3 separate regions of the Homo sapiens genome follow, and regions 2 and 3 are each linked to region 1. The links are contacts of gene promoters, found by promoter capture Hi-C in blood cells and fetal thymus (Javierre and others, 2016). All regions are on one chromosome and are shown on one strand. The core of a region is centred on a gene start or on the middle of the fragment in contact, and the rest is flanking DNA. Distances in the headings are between cores, read along the strand shown.

Region 1 (2,700 bases), core at 104-2,603:
ACTGCACCCGGCCAGGAGTTAGACACTTATGATTTCATACTTCCAACCAATGCTTACCTCCATTATATTATTGAGCAGATTATGGTTAAAATGTTTGCATGTTTGTCTTCCCTCAAAGACTGTGAACTACTTGTGGGGAGGAATGATCTTTTGTATCTGTATTCACGGCACCTAGCATGGTGTCTCACTCATAGTAGATTCTTGGTAAATGTTTGTTAAATGGATGTGAAGTTAAGTGGATGTGTATACAGCATACAGAGGTGGTGGCACTGGTGGGAAGCAAGATGCCAGTTCCTAGGGCTGAGCACAAAACCCACCCTGGACCATCCGTAAGACGTGCAGGAACATCTGTTCCATCGCTAGCGCCCTCTACCTCCCCATTTTGTTTTGGAGGCAGGGAAGGTTATTGGTCTGAAAAGATCTCCATCTCAGAAGAAAAGAACGCTGATACATGTTATGGATATCTCACATTCACTCATTGATTTAACGAATGTTCACTGAACATTTACTCTGTACCACGGCTCATCTGATTCTCACAACCTCTCTCAGCATTATCCGCATTTTTAGATGAGAAGGCTGAGGCTCAGATTTATTTGCATAAGGTCCCACGGATAGCAAGTGACATAGCTGAAAATTCACTGGTTCTGACTCTGGAGGGTGTCGGGCAAGAGTCAGGGGTTGCGGGTCTCCAGAGGGCTGGTCCAAGTGGGGCTCACCTGAACTTGGTGTGGCTGGGAGCCGCGTTCTGTTCAACTTTCTGCTTGGCCGCAGCGTCTTGGAGCTGTCGAGCGCCTGTGCAGATGGTCCCGGCCGGCGTTCTGGCCACGACCCTGCTGGGAAGAAAAGCTCGGTGAGGGCCACGGCCTAACGGTCACTGGGGCCCGGGTGGCTCAAGGGACACGAGTAGGAGCATAGTCCTGGAGGTGGCGGTGGGCTCGAGGGGGCAGTCATTTGTTACCCGGCTGTCTGGGGCCAAGTCCAGGACCGCAGGAACCGCGACCCCGCGTTTCTCACAGCCTGCATGACTTGAATTGACCCCAGTCAGTTTCCGTCTGCAGCGACAGTCACAGCTGCGCCGGCGCCGGTACCATGAGTGCCTGTCGGGGAGGGGACAGAAGGGAAAGTCATCTACTCTTCATTAGGTCCACTGAATATTTTTATTTCCATTTAAATGCTCAATAAGACTTTCACTGTAGTTCACCAGGGGATTCTTTCCCTTTTTTAATGTTCTGAGATGGTGGGTCACCCCCTCCATATGCGAATGGTTCGTTCTAGCAGTTCCGGGACTGAGCTTTCCCCTAGTTTGCCGCTCCCGCGGCTGAGGGATCCCTGGGAGCCGCGGTGCATTGTGGGAGAACGAAAGATGGCGGCGCCCGTAAGGCGGACGCTGTTAGGGGTGGCGGGGGGTTGGCGGCGGTTCGAGAGGCTCTGGGCCGGCAGTCTAAGCTCTCGCAGCCTGGCTCTTGCAGCCGCACCCTCAAGCAACGGATCCCCATGGCGCTTGTTGGGCGCGTTGTGCCTGCAGCGGCCACCTGTAGTCTCCAAGCCGTTGACCCCATTGCAGGAAGAGATGGCGTCTCTACTGCAGCAGGTGGGACTGAGATGCAGGGTTCAGAGTGACGTTTATTCTGCGTGACTTTGAGCGAGTAATTTCACCTCTCTGAACTTAAGTATACGGTACTTATCCGCAGAATGGTACCTACCTTACTGACTTGGTTTGGTACATAGATGTTCAACAAAAAGTGGTTTCTTTTCATTGGCCGTGTTTATTGTCACCTTAGACAACTCTTTGGAGATACTCTACTTCTTGTTCATGCAACACAATAGGGATCCTGTGGTGAACAAGAATCGGTCCGTGTCACTAGGAGCTTACAAGTCTGGAGGGAGAAAGTCTTTGTGATGTGATGAATGTTAAGAAGGAAATACAAGAGGCGGTGGGCACATCTGTCAGATGCCTATGATAAGCCTACTCTGTTTTATCTCATGGGGCTATCTGTGTGAGGGGCAAGTGAGGAAGCATGGGCAAAAACAGTGTAGTGGCTGTGAAGGTGTGAGGTCGCTACAGAAAGTGTTTGAAGGGTGATATGTTTCCTCAGAATCCGAGATGTTTTTGTCTTGGTCTGTTGAGAACTATAAACTTCTCTTCTGTGCTTTTTGCTTGATTTATTCATTTACTCGCTCGCTTGACAAATATTTGTTACTCAACCTACAGATGTTCATTGTGCCCATACTATGCATCAGAGAGTATGTTAAGTGATAGAGATGCTGTAATGAATAAGGCAGAAGTAGCTCTGGTTCTCAGAGTACTTCAGTCTAGTTGAGTGAGGGGATCAGTCAGTAACCAAATAATCATACAACTAAATGCAGACCCTGATAAGTGTTGTTAAGGAAAACACAAGGCACTATAAGAGTGTTTAACAAATACATCACATTTTGATTTTATGGTGAGTGTCAAGGAATGCCTCAGACTTTCTGAATACAGGTTTTTCTCTTTATGAGAAATGTCTCTCTGAGACAGTCATATTTAAATTGAAATCAGAAAGATGAGTAGGACTCTCCCAGAAGAAAGAATGTGAGGAAAAACATTCTAGGAAGAAGGAACAACCTCTTGAAAGTCCCTGAACAGGAAAGTCCTTGGTGAGTGAGATTCTGATCAAAGACTGACATGACTGGATTGTGGTGAGTCAGCAGGCATTGCCC
Region 2 (2,700 bases), core at 182-2,681, 600 kb before region 1:
GTGATCCACAGATGTGTAGGATCGATATCATGATATTAGAAATGCAGAACCTCAGGTCCCCCAAGACCTGCTGAATCAGAATTTGTGTTTGGCAAGATCCCGAGATGCTTCGCATGGTTAGAGTTTGAGAAGTAGTGCGTGAGGCCACTAGTTTCCAAACCTGGCCAATGATCAGAATTAACACACTTTTTAAAAGAAAACTACAGATTCCCTGTAATCCCAGCACTTTGGGAGGCCGAGGAGGGTGGATCACCTGAGGTCAGGAGTTCGAGACCAGCCTGGCCAACATTGTGACATTCTGTCTCTACTAAAAATACAAAAAAATTACCAGGCATGGTCGTGGGCACCTGTAATCCTAGCTACTTGGGAGGCTGAGGCAGGAGAATCGCTTGAACCTAGGAGGCGGAAGTTGCAGTGAGCCAAGATCGTACCACTGCACTCCAGCCTGGGCAACAGAGCAAGACTGTCTCAAAAACTACAGATTCCCCAGATATTCCACACAAGTTTCTAGCTAATCAGGTCTGAGCTCACACCTAGGTCCCTTTTTTAAAGCTCCCCATAAATCTGATGATAGATTAAGTTTAGCATTGCTCCACAATGCTGCTCTCTGTAGAAGTGGGAATTTTCTGAGTATATTCTTTGTCCCAGGCCCCTCAAAAAGTGCTTTCCTCACAACTAGGCTTGCTAGATTTAGCAAATGAAAATACAGAATGCCTAGTTAAATTTGAATTTCAGATAAAGAGCAAATACTTTTTTAGTATAAGTATGTCTCAAATATTGTGTGGGCTATACTTATAAAATTATTTTAAGTAGTGAAAACAGGTTTAGCAAACTTACTAGTTAAAAATTAAATTTTATTAATATGATCAATTTAAATTTAGGAAAAGTTTCTAAAATTATGTATTGTTTATCTGAATTTCAAATTTAGCTGAGCATTTTGTATTTTACTTGGCAGCTCTACTCACAAAAGTACTGAAGTTCCAAGGAGAAGCTTGGCATAACCATATTGAGGGCAAGAAGAGGCAGAACTTGTCAGACATCAATAAGAAATGGATGAATGGGTGAATACCAAAGATATCATGTAGAGCTGCCTCAGTCAGCTTAGGCTAAGTTATCCTGCAGTAACAAATGACCTTCTCAACTCAGTGGCTAAATAAACCCCAAACTTAACTTTCCCTTCCCTCCCCTCCCCTCTCCTTTTCTTCCCTCCCCTTCCCCTTCCTCTCCCCCTCCTGCTCATCCTTCCCCTTCCCCTCCCCCTCCTGCTCATCCTTCCCCTTCCCCTTCTCCTTCCCCTCCTTTCCTCTTTTGAGACCGAGTCTTGCTCTGTCACCCAGGCTGGAGAGCAGTGGCACAATCTCAGCTAACTGCAACTTCTGCCTCCTGGGTTCAAGTGATTCTTGTGCCTCAGACTCCCGAGTAGCTGGGACTACAGGCCCCCACCACCATGCCTGGCTAATTTTTGTATTTTTAGTAGAGACAGGGTTTCGCCATGTTGGTCAGGCTGGTCTCAAAATCCTGACCTCAAGTGATGCACCTGCCTCGGTCTCCCAGAGTTCTGGGATTACAGGCATGAGCCACTGCACCTGGCCCAAACATTTGTTTCTTATTTGCATTACATATCCATCGAGGTCAGCTATCTTCCTCCTCATTCTGTGACCAAGGCTCATAGGAGGTTTCTAACGGAGACATTTTTGTTCTCCTCAAAAAGGAAAAAAATAAAAGTGTGACATGACTCTTACAGCTTGGGTGACCAGCTATCCCAGTTTGCCCAGGACTGGGGGTTTCCTGGGACACAACACTTTAGTGTTAAAACCAGAATAGTCTTCGTCTTCAGGTAACTGAGGTTGGTCACCCTACAATAAAGCTTCTACCCGAAAGTGGCATGCACCACTTCCATTGGCCAAAAAAGTCATATGACCAAGTTTGTCATCAGGGAGTGAGCATTATAATCGTCCAGTATTGAGGGACCCTGTAGGATAAACATACCCAATAGCAATAACTTAAGCATACCCTTAGAATGACCCTGTATGGCAGACGCACCTGAGTGTGTGCTCTGAGCTAGGGAATCTGGGAGTGGCCAACCCAGAGATTCCTTCCTGTCTATGAGGAACATGTGAGCTCCACCCCACTCCCTTCCTGTCTGGTGGAATGTGGGCCGTATAAGGGATGGAGGCCATTTGTTTTAGGTTAAATGCAGGTTACCAGGTGAAGGTTGTTAAGGGGAGGGTTTTAAGTGAAAATACTGTATAAACTGCATGCTGTTTGCAAGTGGTTGCGTTTTTCCTGTCCAGTCTGCCACTGCTGGAGACTCTCCCCTGTATGTAAGCCCCAAATAAAACCCTATGTCTTTTTTTTTCTTTTGAGACGGGGTTTTGCTCTTGTTGCCCAGGCTGGAATGCAAAGGCACAATCTTGGCTCACTGCAACCTCCACCTCCCGGGTTCAAGCGGTTCTCCTGCCTCAGCCTCCCAAGTAGCTGGGATTATAGGCGCTTGACACCATGCCCAGCTAATTTTTTATATTTTTAGTAGAGATGGGGTTTCACCATGTTGGCCAGGCTGGTCTTGAACTCCTGACCTCAGGTGATCCACTCGCCTTGGCCTCCCAAAGTGCTGGGATCACAGGTGTGAGCCACCGTGCCCGGCCAAAACCCCATGTCTTATTTGCTACCTTTGGGTCTCTTCTTTGACCTCTTGAA
Region 3 (2,700 bases), core at 72-2,571, 620 kb before region 1:
AGATTATTATGTTCTCTCTATTCCGGCAAATGACAGAGGGTAGTGAAGGATTTCTCTTTTGGACTCTGCTTAATGTGGCTGTAAGGAAACGGCCTTCGAAAAGCTCTGGGCACAGATCTTGTTGACTCTGCCAAACCTGCAGTCTCTCCAGGTCCCTCTGTGGAGCCTGTTCTTGGAACATGCCTTTGGATTTGGTTACTGGAATGCAGGTGAAACTGACAAACTGGAGGTCCAGCAACCAAAAAAGAGAGATTGGGAAGATTAAGAGAGCGGTCCATGGTAGTTCAAATACAAGGAGTTTCACAGTGGCTAAATAAACCTCTATCTTTTTGTATAATCCAGTCTCTTTGCTAACACCCACTCTTGAGAGCTGAAACCTCAAAATTCATTATGGGTGAATTCAACAGCCACTTGGAACCTAATGGACCCCCAGAAGTACTCTTCTCAAGCTAGGCATCAAAGGCCACTTAGAGTGCATTTGTGGGTAGAGAAGGCCCTTACAGATGGGTCATGCAGTCCTCCCTTGGGAGTCCTAAGCATCCGACACAGGTGGCTGTCATCAGGCCACTGCTTGGACATCGCCAAGGTCGAGGCGCTAGCTGCCCGGCCTGGCAGGCAGCCTCCTGCGCTGCTGGACAGCTCTAGCTGTGGGAAAAGCTCACGAAGGGCCTAGAACAGTGCCGGTCGCGGGGCCGAACTCGGTAAATGTGCTTCCAAGTGGGTCAAAAGCTGCCTTTCTAGAACTTAAACCCACTGGTCCTGCGTGAGCCCCTGGAGCCCCGAAACACAGAGGCCTCTCGGGTATCTCGGGCTGTAATCAGGCCCCTCGGCCCTCTCCTTCCAGGTGCGGATCCCGGACCTTCTTCGCCGAGCCTGAACCGGCAGACCCCTCCCCAGGCCCCTGAAGACCCAGGAGTGAGCACCAATGGGGGAAAGGCCGCGGTCGGGGTTGTCCCCAACCTCGGTTCCTCGGGCAGAAGGGGACAAAGGGCCTCAGGAAGGCGTATCCCCCGCCGCGATCTGGGCTGTCCCCACCACTGGGCAAGCCAGCCCCTGGGACCCCCACGGCGCCAGATGACAGGCCCCCCAGGATCCCCTCAGGCTGCGGCGTGATGGGCCGAGCTACGCCGGGGACCTCGGGGCTCGGAGATTCGGTTCGACGGGTCCGGGGTGCGATCCCCGCTCCGCGGAGCTCGCTCGGCCGTGGCTTTACCTGCGTGTGATTGACTACAGGTGCTCAGCTCGCCCCCAGTCTGGTTCCTGCAGCTCCCCGGCTGCCAGCGGCGCTCATGGATATACAGCCGGAACCCCTGGCCAGTGCAGCTCCCGCCGCTACCGGCCCCGCCCAAGTAACTGCCGCCACGCCCCTGACGACCGCTTCTGCCACGCCCCTAACCACGGAAACCGCTTGTTCATTGGGCAGTTCAGCCGCTTCTCCACTTGCCCCGCGCGCTCATTGCGTCTAGGAGGGGATCCATTGATCAGCGAAGCTGTTCCTCAGAGTGGAGGCGGGATTCTTAGGGGAGAGCTCCTCAGCAATTGGTTACATTTGACGGCTTTAGTCCAGGGACCCAGACGCTACTGGATAAGGCCAGCCCGGAGTGGGCGGGGAAAGGGGAGGAGGGCTAGAAGGTGGGTCGTGTTTGATGTCGATGGGGGCGGGGTGAAGAGACGGGTAATTGTGACCGCAAACTGCTTTAGAGGGCTGGGTAAGGTCAGCTGTCGACTGGGCTCAGAGGAATGAGGTCGGCTGGTAGCTCAGCTGCTGGTAGCTCAGCTGGGGCTCTTATGGGTCCAGGCCGACTGACTGACTCACGTGTACTCAAATTTCGCAGGGGTGAAATTTGAGGTCATATCCCGGGAGAGAGGAAGAAGGGTCGTGAGTCACCGAACCCGAAGGAGAGGAAAAGATGTGGAGGCAGCGGTCTATGGCCTCTTCCAGCTCCGGACGGGGGATGGGGACGCTCTGGGCAATACGGGCCTCAGTTATTGTCCCACTGTCCTTTCAACCCTTAACCAACCCAGTTGGAGGCCGCCTGGAAGAATGTAGCCTTGGAACTAGGGCCTGGAATTGGGGCTCCTACCGGTTGTGTGGGCTTGGGCAAGTCACTTAACCTTCCCGCATGCTCCCTTCACTTGGCAACTGAGGGTAACAATAGTAGTTGATGAGAAGATTAAATAAACTCTGATAAATGCCAACAGTGGCTGGCACTCAACAGGCATTCAATCAAGGCTGATTCTTCCCCCATCACCCACTCACCTCATCCGGCTGGGAAACTAGGCCCATTTCTAAAATTCTATGAGCCTGAAACTGCTTTTGCAATGGCATGTCGTGTACCAAGAATAGAACACTTGAGCGACTTGAAATGCAACCCCTGTAGGGCAGACAAGGCCACCCTACCAAGGCCCCATAGGGCTCGGAGAGAGGGAGCAGGGGATGAAATGAGAGGAGCGATTTAGTCAGAGAAGGGAAGTGGCATTTGTTACCATGTAAATTTTTCCCAACATATTTCAGGTTGTGACAAGGAACAGTGGGCTGGCTCAAGTTTTATGGAGCGTAACCAAATAACATCCTTTGAAGGCTGATCAGCACCGGACCAGAAATCATTGCATGAGCTCTATCTGTCAGAGACCCCTGAAACCCATTCCCCATTCTGAAGGTGTAGACATCACAGAGTGTGGACAGAAATAGCTTCTCAG

The links. The method cuts DNA at HindIII sites, captures the fragments that hold promoters and counts their contacts. A CHiCAGO score of 5 or more calls a contact.
Region 2: a contact is called between a fragment that was not itself captured here and the fragment with the promoter of MRPL46 in region 1, in 5 of 17 cell types (naive CD8 T cells, total B cells, total CD8 T cells and 2 more). The highest score is 7.3, in naive CD8 T cells.
Region 3: the fragment with the promoter of ABHD2 here is called in contact with the fragment with the promoter of MRPL46 in region 1 in 3 of 17 cell types (total B cells, naive CD8 T cells and total CD4 T cells); the score reaches 9.1 in total B cells.

Annotation. Positions count from the first base shown.
Region 1 is chr15:88,466,041-88,468,740 of GRCh38, reverse strand. MRPL46 (mitochondrial ribosomal protein L46) reads left to right here and starts at 1,353. Exons shown (of 4, transcript NM_022163.4): 1 at 1,353-1,591. The coding sequence starts at 1,364. MRPS11 (mitochondrial ribosomal protein S11) reads right to left here and starts at 1,033. Exons shown (of 6, transcript NM_022839.5): 1 at 959-1,033; 2 at 717-833. The coding sequence starts at 1,023. RefSeq lists enhancers at 1,183-1,352, 1,819-2,700. The HindIII fragment of the contact is 6,788 bases long and covers 1-2,700 here.
Region 2 is chr15:89,071,086-89,073,785 of GRCh38, reverse strand. All of the region lies in intron 2 of CARMAL (coronary artery disease region linked MFGE8 regulatory lncRNA), which reads right to left. It also overlaps a transcript of ABHD2 not described here. Among named protein-coding and RNA genes, the nearest start is that of ABHD2, 16 kb to the left of the region's middle. The HindIII fragment of the contact is 876 bases long and covers 994-1,869 here.
Region 3 is chr15:89,087,077-89,089,776 of GRCh38, reverse strand. It overlaps ABHD2 (abhydrolase domain containing 2, acylglycerol lipase), which reads right to left and starts at 1,321. Exons shown (of 11, transcript NM_152924.5): 1 at 1,214-1,321. It overlaps LOC124903573, which reads left to right. Exons shown (of 7, transcript XM_047433432.1): 5 at 845-942; 6 at 1,091-1,709; 7 at 1,836-2,216. The coding sequence ends at 2,050. RefSeq lists enhancers at 662-1,181, 1,123-1,302, 1,913-2,558. The HindIII fragment of the contact is 11,698 bases long and covers 1-2,700 here.